Linked DNA regions of Homo sapiens: all the other regions are linked to region 1. Evidence: promoter capture Hi-C in human tissues and cell types (Jung and others, 2019). All regions are on one chromosome and are shown on one strand. The core of a region is centred on a gene start or on the middle of the fragment in contact, and the rest is flanking DNA. Distances in the headings are between cores, read along the strand shown.

Region 1 (3,659 bases), core at 534-3,033:
CTTACTATGTGCTCCTATTGTAAATCATTTATATACATTAAATTATTAATCTTCACAGCAAACCTATAGATTAATAATGTTATCCCCATTTTACTGATGAGGAAACAAACATAACAGAGTTACAAAATCTGGCTAAGGTCCCATAGGAGAAATGCCAAGTAGCCTGGTCTTGTGTTCTTCACCGTTATGTTAATATTTAAAGAGATTATAGCATTAAATTGTTTAAAAATGTTAAATGATGATAATTTTAAAATCTAGGAAACTCCACAAATCCCAAACATGATTTGAAAAAGAGTCACCAGATACAATTTGGTGAGAATGTATCATAGCAGAGAAAAATAAAAGCTCTTAGAGGAAAAAAAGGCAGATCACCACAAGCAAATGGCAACCTGACTGATGGCCGCAACAGTAACCCTGGCAGTCAGAACATGGATCTTCAATGTGCTGGAAGAAAGAAACTATCACCCTACAATGCCATGCCTGGAAAAACCATCTTTAGAAGACGAGGGTGAAACAATGACATTTTCAGATAGATAAAAGGAGGCATTTACCATGCAGAGACTCTCACAGAAGGAACTCCTGAAGAATGTGTTTTGAGAAATGGAAGATATGAGATGTAAAATGGGAGGATGAGCAAAAGCATTGGTGATTATGTGGATAAATCTGAATAAACACTGACTATTTAAAACAATAATAAGTGTTTCATTTGTTGGAGGGAAACAGAATCAAAATCAAATAATAGAGCACAGTAGGTTAGACAGTAACAGAAGTTAAAGCTTTCTAAGGTCCTGCTGCTGCTCATGAGGAAAGCAGATTTCTGGGGACAAATGCATGGTTTACCCACTGCACCAAAGTATAATACAAGAAAATGCTGAGTCTCAGAACTCGCCTCAATCAACACATGTTCCCTGTCTGAGGTCACCCAGCTGCTCTGGAATGCAAAGGGGCATGATCTTGTATGGTGTTCATCATTGTGTCTTCATTGCCTGGAACGGTACCTGACATATCATAGGCAAACAATAAACAGTGTTGAATGAATGAATAAATGAGTGAATAATTTCTTCTGATTGTCTTAAATGCTTCATAATTGTTACTTATAACTCAATTTGGCTGCAGCATAGGCACATGAAAGGAAGTCATAGGAGATAAGGCTGAAAATATTGGTTGGCTCTAGATGATCTAAAAATAATCTAGCTAATAAATATCATGATGTAGAGGGAGAAACGTGACAGATGGTGCATGTGATGTGCTAAGTCCCCTATATTTTATAAGGAGACTCAATATATCTAGTTGTTAACATCGATAAATCAAAAATAGAAATGTTGTTTTATTACGCAAAGCTTTTTTAAAAAAAAGAATGGAAACTGTATGCAGTGGTTGCTTTTGGGGAATGAGACTTCGAGAGACTTTGCATTTCATTTTATACACCTTAGTGTCATTTGAAATAAACCTGATTTTGAAAGGTCAAGTAAGCCAGGGCCTTGAATGCCAAGCAGAAGAGGGCAGACTATTCTTTAGCTATGAAAGCTCACGTCGCTTGATTGGTCTGCTTCCTGGATGCTCATTGTGGGCAATGAAAGACTTCAGGACGGTGATTCCTTGCAGGGAGTGGGGCCGGAGAGGGTAGGGGAGAAACCAAGATAAGTGATTGGAGTCAGGGCAAATGCTGAGAAACATCTCATGTGGTTTCCTGTGTCATACTCTTATTTTCCAGCACCCTCTGTACAGGAAATCACAGGGTTGTTGAGCATCTTGATAAGCTTCACTCAGTCATCAGGTTTCACTCCAGATCCTGCAGGCATCTCCCCATCCTCAGCTGTTTGCCAGTCCCAGGAAAGCACTTCTCAACTCACCAACTCCAGTAGAAAGAAGGGTGTTAAGGTAAGAGTTTGTTCAAGAACCATCTTCTTTCAAAGGCAGTTTTGGTTTTTACCTTAGTCCACATCCTGATGAATTCATTAGGAAAAGAAGACAGGAAGCTCCTTTGAGGAAGCTTTGGATGCTGGCAGCTTAGATGCTGGGAGATCCGAATGGGGTCAAGCAGGTTCGTCCCACTTCTCTTCTATCTACCAATATTCTCCCCTTCTCTTCGACCATTCAAATCTGAAACTATGGAGAGAAAGATTTTGCTGATTTTAATTTAGGGGCAGGCTAGAATGAAGTCATTACTTCCCTAAGCTAAATTGTTATTTAAAACCTCAGGTTGCACTGATTTTCTTGTTATTCAAAAGGTTTTTCCTTCATATCTGTCATTGTCCCAGCAGAAAACACACATCACACACTCTAAAGGGGTAGTTTAGAGGAGTTTAGTGAAGAGACTGTTTACAACGGCGTGAACAGGGATTAAGGAATGATGAAGCCCTCAAAGGCAAGTGATAGTGGAGGGCTGTTACCGTTGCTAGGTCTGAAGTGATAAGGAGAAAGAGAAGTTCTGAGAACTCAGAATGTGCTGTAGCGGTAACTGTAACTGTAACTATAGCTGTGGCTACAGGAAAGGGCCACCAGGCAGGGCTATGTCCTTAGGTAGAAAAACACTGCCACTGCCAACTCACAGCCCTTCAGGGCGCAGGGAGAGAGCCAGGAAATTTTTAAAAAATCATCCCCCAATCTACTGTCAATGTGTCCCTTTGGCTGAAAAAAAAAGTCACCCTCCAATCTCCTGTCAATGTGTACCCTTTGGAGCCTGAGTGAAAGACAGCCCATTGACGAGGCACAGACATGTCTCCTCCCAGGATGCAAAGGCAGGTAGAGAAGGATGGACATGAGATCCTAATAGCAAATAGGAAAGTCCATTTCTTCCCATAGCCTCTTCTCAGTTTGTCTTTCCTGAGACTTTCTCTATTAATGTGATTGAATCAATTTCTCATTCTATCACCTCCCTTTTTTTTAATTGTTTGACCTTCCCATCTAGTGTCACTTCTTTGGACTAGTCTCTCACTATCATCATAAATGCCTTGAGAATGGAATGTGGTTGGGAAAAAAAGGGATTGGGAGTACATAGGTACTCCCAGCTATAAGTACACAGGTATGTGTAATGTAAGTTTATGATTTTGGCTTCTCTAAAAAGAAACCTATTATAGTGATAATCAAAAAGAATGTTTACTAGACTTGGGCTGATAACTCTAAGACATCAAACATCAAGGCTCCTTCCAATTTCTATTTCCCCATCCCTAAAGCGGTACCCTTACCCTCATGGTCCTACATGGCTCCCAAACACATCAGCATTCCAGCCAGAGAGAAGAGAAAAAAAGAAAGAGTACAGGAGTAGCTGGTTATATCACTTTCTCTCACCTCCCCTTGACCATCACATATGGTTACATGGTGCCATTAGCATAAAGGGAAGCTGAGAAATGGGCCTTTTTCTGATCTAAGACTCAGAATTATTATGTGTGAGAAAAGGAGAATGGCTTTTGGGGCAACAAGCAGTCTCTATAGCCCGATTCTCTTTTAGCATCTGTGCTCACCTGGAGATTTTTCTCAACACTGCCTCACAAATAGTGAATGATGTAGACATGGAACAGAAATAAACCTAGGACAGGGCCCCAGGAGACTGGAGCTGGTATTGGACCTGCTTTTCACCATGTGATTCAGGAAACTCTTTTGTACACGTTAAGCCTGTCTTTCTTTGTTAAATGAGCGTATTACAATAGATGGCCTCC
Region 2 (3,659 bases), core at 680-3,179, 63 kb before region 1:
ACGTAACCGCCACCATCATCCTTTGCAGTCATACCCTCCCGTAACCCCAACCAACTCTTGGCAACCACTGATCTGTTGTCATTAATTCTGTCTTTCCCAGAATGTCATATAATGGAATCATACAGTACACAATCTTTTAGGAGGGGCTTCCTCCACTCAGCACAATGGTGCTGAGATTTAACCAAGTTGTTGTATGTTATCAATAATTCCTTCTTTTTTACTGCTGTGTAGTATCCCACTATATGGGTGCGTCACAGATAATCTATCCAAACAGTCTGCGTGGGTTGTTTTCCAGCTTTTGGCAATCATAAACAGAGCTGCTAAAAATATTCGTGGACAAACTTTTGTGTGAACATCCTTTCATTTCTCTAAGAATAAGACTGCTTGGCCATATGTTAGGTATATTTAAATTTATGAGAAACTGCTAAACTATTTTCCAGACTGGCTATATCACCTTGCATTGCCACTAACAACTATGAGAGTTACAATTGTTCTGCATTCTCACCAGCACTTGGGATTGTCAGTCTAATAGATGTATAGGGGCATCTCATCATGGTCTTAATTTGCATATCCTTAACGGCTAATGAAGTTGAGCATCTTTTCACATGCTTATTTGCCACCTGTATATCTTCTCTGGTGAAGTGTCTGTTCAAGTCTTTTGTCCATTTTTTAATTGAGCTGTTTGTTTTCTTACTGTTAAGTTTTGAGAGTTCTTTATATTATATATTCTAGATACAAGTCTTTTGTCAGATATGTGATTTGCAGATATTTTCTCCTGGTCTGTACCTTACCTTCCCATCTCTTAAAAGTCTGTTTCATAGAGCAGAAGTTTTAAATTTTAAAAAAGTCCAATTTATCAATTTGTTCTTTTATGGATTGTGCTTTTGGTGTCACGTCTAAAAACTACTGTCTTGGGGTCACAATTCCTCTGTTCAGAGAGTTCTCCCTCAGTGTTTCTGGTGACTGTGCTGCCAGGAAATCCCTTTGTGGCTCCTTGAGCTTTAACTAGATAGCTTCTCATAGAGCACTCGTCTGCACTGATGCTTATTTCCAGGGCTCAAGTCAAGGCTGGGGGCAAATCAGAGAGAAAAAAGGTAAATCAGCTACTGATTTGGTGGTTTTTGAATTCCGGTCTTTTTCTTCTTCAGTCCACCTGCTTTTCTGAATAGGTAAATTCTGATTTATCTGGTAAATAATCAGTACCCCCCCACACACACGCAGAATCACACACAGCTAAAAATAAACATGTAGGTAGTTAGATTAAAATGTAAATAAAAACATTACTTTAGGATGCTTTTCCTGATATCACAGTAATTATATTCAATTGGAAGAAGGCAAAGGGTTGAGGAAAAGAGTTGAACTATACTAAAAATTTCTAGAATCTCAATAAGTAACAGGTATAACAAAAAGTGCAGCTAAGATTGACAAAAAAAATCAGTGTATTTTTATATAAAAAATTTTTACTAGAATTTTAAAACCATAAAATGATAACATATTAATTTTAAAGATCTAGCAATACAGAAGTGAATACAGGGTTAACAATCCGGACTCTTTCCTCTTCAATACTGTACCACCAGAGATAACCATTATTAACAATTGGGTGCATCTTCCCTCATTATGTATATATATTTTAACATATATAATATTGTGCTATATACATACATACATCCACATTTTTAATCATTTTCTTCTTATACTTATTGAACAAAGAATAGTATCACATTATATACATTATTCTTCAACTTGCTTTTCTCATGTAACAATATATCATGTACAGTCCTGCAGTTCAGTAATATTTCACTATTGTTCCATTGTATATAGATCTAGTATAATTCATTCAACACTCCCCTTTGGTTAGAGACACAGGTTGATTTCAGCCTTTCATATCTATACACAATCAACACCCTGGGCATTCTAATTCTATAGGATTGATTCCTCAAAGTAGGACTGTTGAGTCAAAAAACGTGCATTTTAAACATAAATAGATTCTGACCAAATACTCTCCCCAATTCACAGTCCCAATAGCAAAGTATATACGTGTTCTTTCTCCCTACAAACCTTCCCAGAACTGAATATTATCAATCTTTTTACAACCTTGACACTTTGATGGCTAAAAATGGCATCCTATCTTTCACCTGTACTCCCCTAGTTGCTAATGAGTCTGAGTGTTTTGTTTGTTGTTGTTGTTGTTGTTAGGTATACTGGCTCTCCATATTTTCTCTTTTGTGGATTGCCTTTTCATAGTCTACTTGTTTTTCTAATGAATTGCACATATCTGTTTCTCTTTGTAGGTTAGAAAGATTAAGCCTTTTTTGTTTTGTTTTTGAGATGGGGTATTACTCCGTCACCCAGGCTGGAGTGCAGTGGCACCATCAAATCTCACTACAGCCCTATCTGCTGGGCTCAAGTGATTCTACCACCTGACCCACCGTAGTAGGTAGGACTATAAGCAAGCACTACCACACCCTGCTGATTTTTTTATTCTTCTGTAGATAGGTCTCGTTATGTTGCCCAGACTGGTCTCGTTATGTTGCCCAGACTGGTCTTAAACTCCTGACCTCAAGTTATCCTTCCGTCTTGGCCTCCCAAAGCACTAGGGTTACAGGCATGAGCCACCACACCCCACCCTGACCCTTTGTTTATACACAGATTTTTCATCACAGAAAACTGACTCATTCTAGATACAAATTTGTTGCTTCTTATACTATTTTAAGGCATTAAGGACATCAGCTTTATTTTTCATGTATAAAGTTGAGGAGGTTTACATGTTTTAATGTGAAGAATATCCACAATTGAGAATATTTGTTTAGTCGGCAATTAATTACTGTGTATTTATGATGTACAATTACGCTAAGGGCATATAAGACATGGGTGTCTATCCTCCAGGAATTTAAGTCTAATAAGGGAGATATGTCAGAGACAGAGTGAAATAATAATAGCAGGCAATATGTGATTATATATGATTAAATGGCAACTTTAAGAAACTAGAAAACAGAAGATATCTTCCGTTCATGTCATCATTGTTTACCCGCATGCAGATCAAAGTAAAACCTAAAAATGACTATATTCAAAGCTTGTGTTTGAAGTCAATCATCTACAAAGTGAGGAAAGTACACTCAAAGCCATATATGCAGTGACCCACTAGGTAATGTGAGAAAATGTTAAAGCTTCTATTATAATAATTTTTTATCTTTTTACTTAAAAAGGAAAAATAAAATTTACAAATTTGAGTTTTTAAAGCTTTACCAAATTTATTTTTTCTTTTTAGCACACCTCTGCTGGCAGGAAAGCTTTACTAATTTTTAACGATGGCAGTCTCATTTATTGATATGCCAAGCAGGTCACTCCTTATACTCTGTTTACAAGGTAACCTAAGGGCAGAGAAAGCTTCCACAAACAGAGAGTTGACAGTAGGACCTTCAGCATTTTACAATATATATTAGATTATTTTCAAATTATATTGTTAAATTTTAACTAAATTACCTCTCCCAAAATGAGCAAGTAGCTTAAGCTGATTTCTACAAAGAAGCCATGAATTGAGGTAATAATAATAATAATAATAAGCACAAGCAAATAAGAAAATAGCAGATCAGGAACTCTTTATCAGACACATGAAGTATAAACAAAGATGATCTAATCCAATCTGACAAGTCAGTACC
Region 3 (3,659 bases), core at 610-3,109, 46 kb before region 1:
AACGTGTCCCTATGGTATGTTCATATTATCAACGTGTTTTGTTTTGTTTCCAACGAACGTGTCTTTTGGCTTAACTTTTTTTTTTCTTTGAGACAGGGTCTCACTCTGTTGCCCAGGCTGGAGTGCAGTGGCATGGTCTCAGCTCGCTGTAGCCTTGACCTCCTGGGCTCAGGTGATCCTCCAGCCTTAGCCTCCTGAGTAACTGGGATCACAGGCACCATGTCTGGCTAATTTTTCAACTTTTTGTAGAGACGGGATCTCACTTTGTTGCCCAGGCTGGTCTCAAACTCCTGGGCTCAAGCAATCCTCCCACATCAGCCTCCCAAAGTGCTGGGATTACAGGTGTGAGCCACTGTGACAGGGCTTAACTTAAAAACAAAACAGTTTACCCTCTGGAATTGATCCAGAATCTTGAGTCAGACTTGCAAGGATTCTAACTTGAGGAAATGGGGTTAGCAGAAAACAAGGAGTAATTTCATAGTTGTAGGATCTTTAGAAATCCTCTACCCAATATGCTCCCTGAGTCAGAGTTCTCTCACTCTCCCACATCCCTTAAAAGCTGTTGGCACTATCTCCTTGAATACCCACAGTGGTGGGATACTCACTACCTTCTATCATACTGGTTACATTGGACAGAAGTATCCCTCACTTTTTTTTTTTTTTTTTTTTTTGAGACGGAGTCTCGCTGTCTCCCAGGCTGGAGTACAGTGGTGCGATTTCAGCTCACTGCAAGCTCCGCCTCCCGGGTTCACGCCATTCTCCTGCCTCAGCCTCCCAAGTAGCTGGGACTACAGGCGCCCGCCACCACCCCCGGCTAAATTTTTTTGTATTTTTAGTAGAGACGGCATTTCACCGTGTTAGCCAGGATGGTCTCGATCTCCTGATCTCGTGATCCGCCTGCCTCGGCCTCCCAAAGTGCTGGGATTACAGGCGTGAGGCACCGCGCCCGGCCAACTATCCCTCACTTTTATGTTTATAATCGGTCCTTTTTCCTTGGTTATGGCGCCACAAAAATTCCAGTGAATTCTCTCTTCTACTTCACCGCCCATTAGATACTTGAATGGATAATGGTACCCCTAAGTGTGTTGTCCCCCTGATTAAACATCCCCAGCTCTTTCAACCATCCCTCAGTTGGTGTGGAAACCAAGTGGAGGAGATGCTGCTGTTGTGGGAGCCAGACAGAGCTAGCTTTATATCCCAGCTCTTGCCAAGTAGCCTTGGCTAAGTCACACAATCTTTCTGCAATTCTACTACTATTTTGTAAGGCTGTTAAGAAGACTAAATGAGAGAATGTGTGTAAAGCATATGGTATGGTGTTTGCCTTAGGGTGGGTGTTTTGTATAGTGATAGGTGCCAATATTGTTATGGGACCAAGGACAACTTATTTGCCATCAAGTCAGAAGAATTCTACATTAAAAAAAGGAATGAGGTTGAGATATCTGGGAATGAAAAGAAAGCTGAGGGTGGGGTGGCCTGGCTAAGGGAGCTTGACAAAGAGGGACTTGAAGTCAAAAAGAGAAGAGACAGATCATAGGAGGCCAAAGATTCTATATAGTGAGGATGAGGATGCCAACTTCATAGTGGTTGGCATTGTGAGGAACAAATTGTTTCATGTATATGAAAGGACTTTGTAGAATAAATGCTCCCCCCTGCTCCCAGAACACCTGGTGCTTTACCACATTATATTAGGACAATTTTTAAATCATATCCCCCAAGACTATAAGTTCATTGTGGTAGGAAAATTTCTTTTTTGTCTGCCCATCTTCCACTGGGGAAGTGCCTCTCCCTTACCCTAAGTGGTTTAGGTGGGATTGTCAATTTCAGTATCCTGCCTGCTATGAGCCATAGGGCTGAGTCCCTGAGCCAGGCCTGACCAATCAAGGTACACCATCATTTTGCCCAGGGGGATTGTCGGGGTGAGGTGGGGGGGAGCATGTGCCCAAAACAGGGCCAATAAGAGTACTTTCATATAATTTGATCTATTGATGCTGTAAAAGCCAAGTTTCTTTCTTTTGAACTATGAATTCTAAGAATATAAACTTGGGGCTAAATTCTGCGTATTCAACAAGTATTTATTGAGAGCCTAAATATCAGCCAGGGTTCACAGGGTCCAGTCATGAGAACACATATCTCTCTAGATATTTTAAATGCGGGAATTTAACATAAGAAAGTGCTTACACAGTGTTGGAAGGGTTGAGAGAGCAAAGAGCGATTTTAAATGGACTCAGAGCTTAGTAACTGCCAAAAGAAGCTTCCATTCCTAAGGTTGTGGGAACAAAAGAGTAGAGGTGTTGTTACCAGATCTAGAACCCAGGAGATGGGGAGGCCTGGGCTGGTGCTTTGACCACAGGTGGCTGGTGCCAAGACCATGGTGGGCACTGTGCACGCTGATTGGAGAGCTGCTTAGGCTCTGAGGAAGTAGCTCCATTAGTGGGTGCTAGAAGTGCCCAAAACACCCGTTGTTCTCCGTGCCTGTTGGAAGGTTGCTAACAGAAGTCTGAAGCAGGAAAAGAGCCTCTTCTCTCTTCCTCTTGTCTTCCAATTTCCCACCAGTGCCTTATTAGGCTTATAGAAGGCCTCACTGGCTTTCTATCTGAAAGCCGATTGGCAAGAGAATCCAGGGAATGTAATTCCAGTGTCCAAGCCTCCTTAAAACCCATAGCAGAACAAAGCAGTGGAAATGAAATTTGAGAGCAATCAGGCAAAAGACAGCCCGTGTGCAATGTGCTAGGTCTCATTCTAGGGACTGGAGGAATAGTAGTAAGCAAGACAGACAAAAATCCACTCCCCAATGGCTTGCTTCTGGAGAGAATGAGAGATAATACAAAAGCAAGCCTATAGGCAAGCAAGGTACAAACAAGGATACCAAGCACCATTTGTCTCAGTGCAGACTCCCTAGAAGCTGAGCACCAGATGAGGATTATTATGCAAACGCCTTATTAAGGAAGTGCTCTCAGGAACACCTGCTAGGAAGTGAGGAAATGGGATGGTTAATTTTATGTCACTTTGGCTACATTATGGTGACCAGCTGCCTGGTCAAACACTAGTTGAGACTTAGTCAATGTTTAAAACCAGTCGACTTAAAGTGAAGCAGATTACTTTATATGGTGTGGATGGGCCTCATCCAATCAGCCAACCGCCTTAACAGCAAAGGCTGAGGTTTCCCAGAGAAAAATGAATTCTGCCTTCAGAGGGCACCATAGAAATTCCAGCATTCATATTCAAGACTGCAACATCAACTCTTACCCGAACATTCAGCCTCCAGCCCACTGACTTACCCTATGGCTTTCAGACTTGCCAGTCCTGACAATTGCATGAACAAATTTCTGAAAATAAATCTGTTATCTTTCCTGTTGGTTCTGTTTTTCTGTAGAATCATGACTAATACAGGGAAGGGGGAAAAACCAAAAAAAAGGGATGTGATTTCAGGCCAAATCCTCTCAGTCTGATGCCACTGGAAGCTCTGGATTGTAAACTGCACCATAGAGTTTGCCATTTCTTGAGGCAAAGGAGGTGAGCTTCATGCATCTGTACCAGTCAGTCCCTGGGCAGGTTATACACATACTTTGACTATCGGGAATTTCTTTTTTCTGTTTTTTCAAGGCTATGGTATTTTAATTCCAGGGGGTCAGAGATACTCCTGGAAGGAATAACAGGAA

The links. The method cuts DNA at HindIII sites, captures the fragments that hold promoters and counts their contacts. A contact is called where the count stands out against the background at its distance.
Region 2: a fragment that was not itself captured here is called in contact with the fragment with the promoter of MRGPRX2 in region 1 in 1 of the 25 tissues and cell types used here (psoas muscle).
Region 3: a contact is called between a fragment that was not itself captured here and the fragment with the promoter of MRGPRX2 in region 1, in 1 of the 25 tissues and cell types used here (neural progenitor cells).

What each region holds. Positions count from the first base shown.
Region 1 is chr11:19,058,841-19,062,499 of GRCh38, reverse strand. MRGPRX2 (MAS related GPR family member X2) reads left to right here and starts at 1,783. Exons shown (of 2, transcript NM_054030.4): 1 at 1,783-1,881. The HindIII fragment of the contact is 5,022 bases long and covers 1,551-3,659 here.
Region 2 is chr11:19,122,313-19,125,971 of GRCh38, reverse strand. The region is part of intron 1 of ZDHHC13 (zDHHC palmitoyltransferase 13); the gene reads right to left. Among named protein-coding and RNA genes, the nearest start is that of ZDHHC13, 7.0 kb to the right of the region's middle. The HindIII fragment of the contact is 5,447 bases long and covers 1-3,659 here.
Region 3 is chr11:19,104,904-19,108,562 of GRCh38, reverse strand. No RefSeq gene overlaps it. Among named protein-coding and RNA genes, the nearest start is that of ZDHHC13, 10 kb to the left of the region's middle. The HindIII fragment of the contact is 5,134 bases long and covers 1-3,659 here.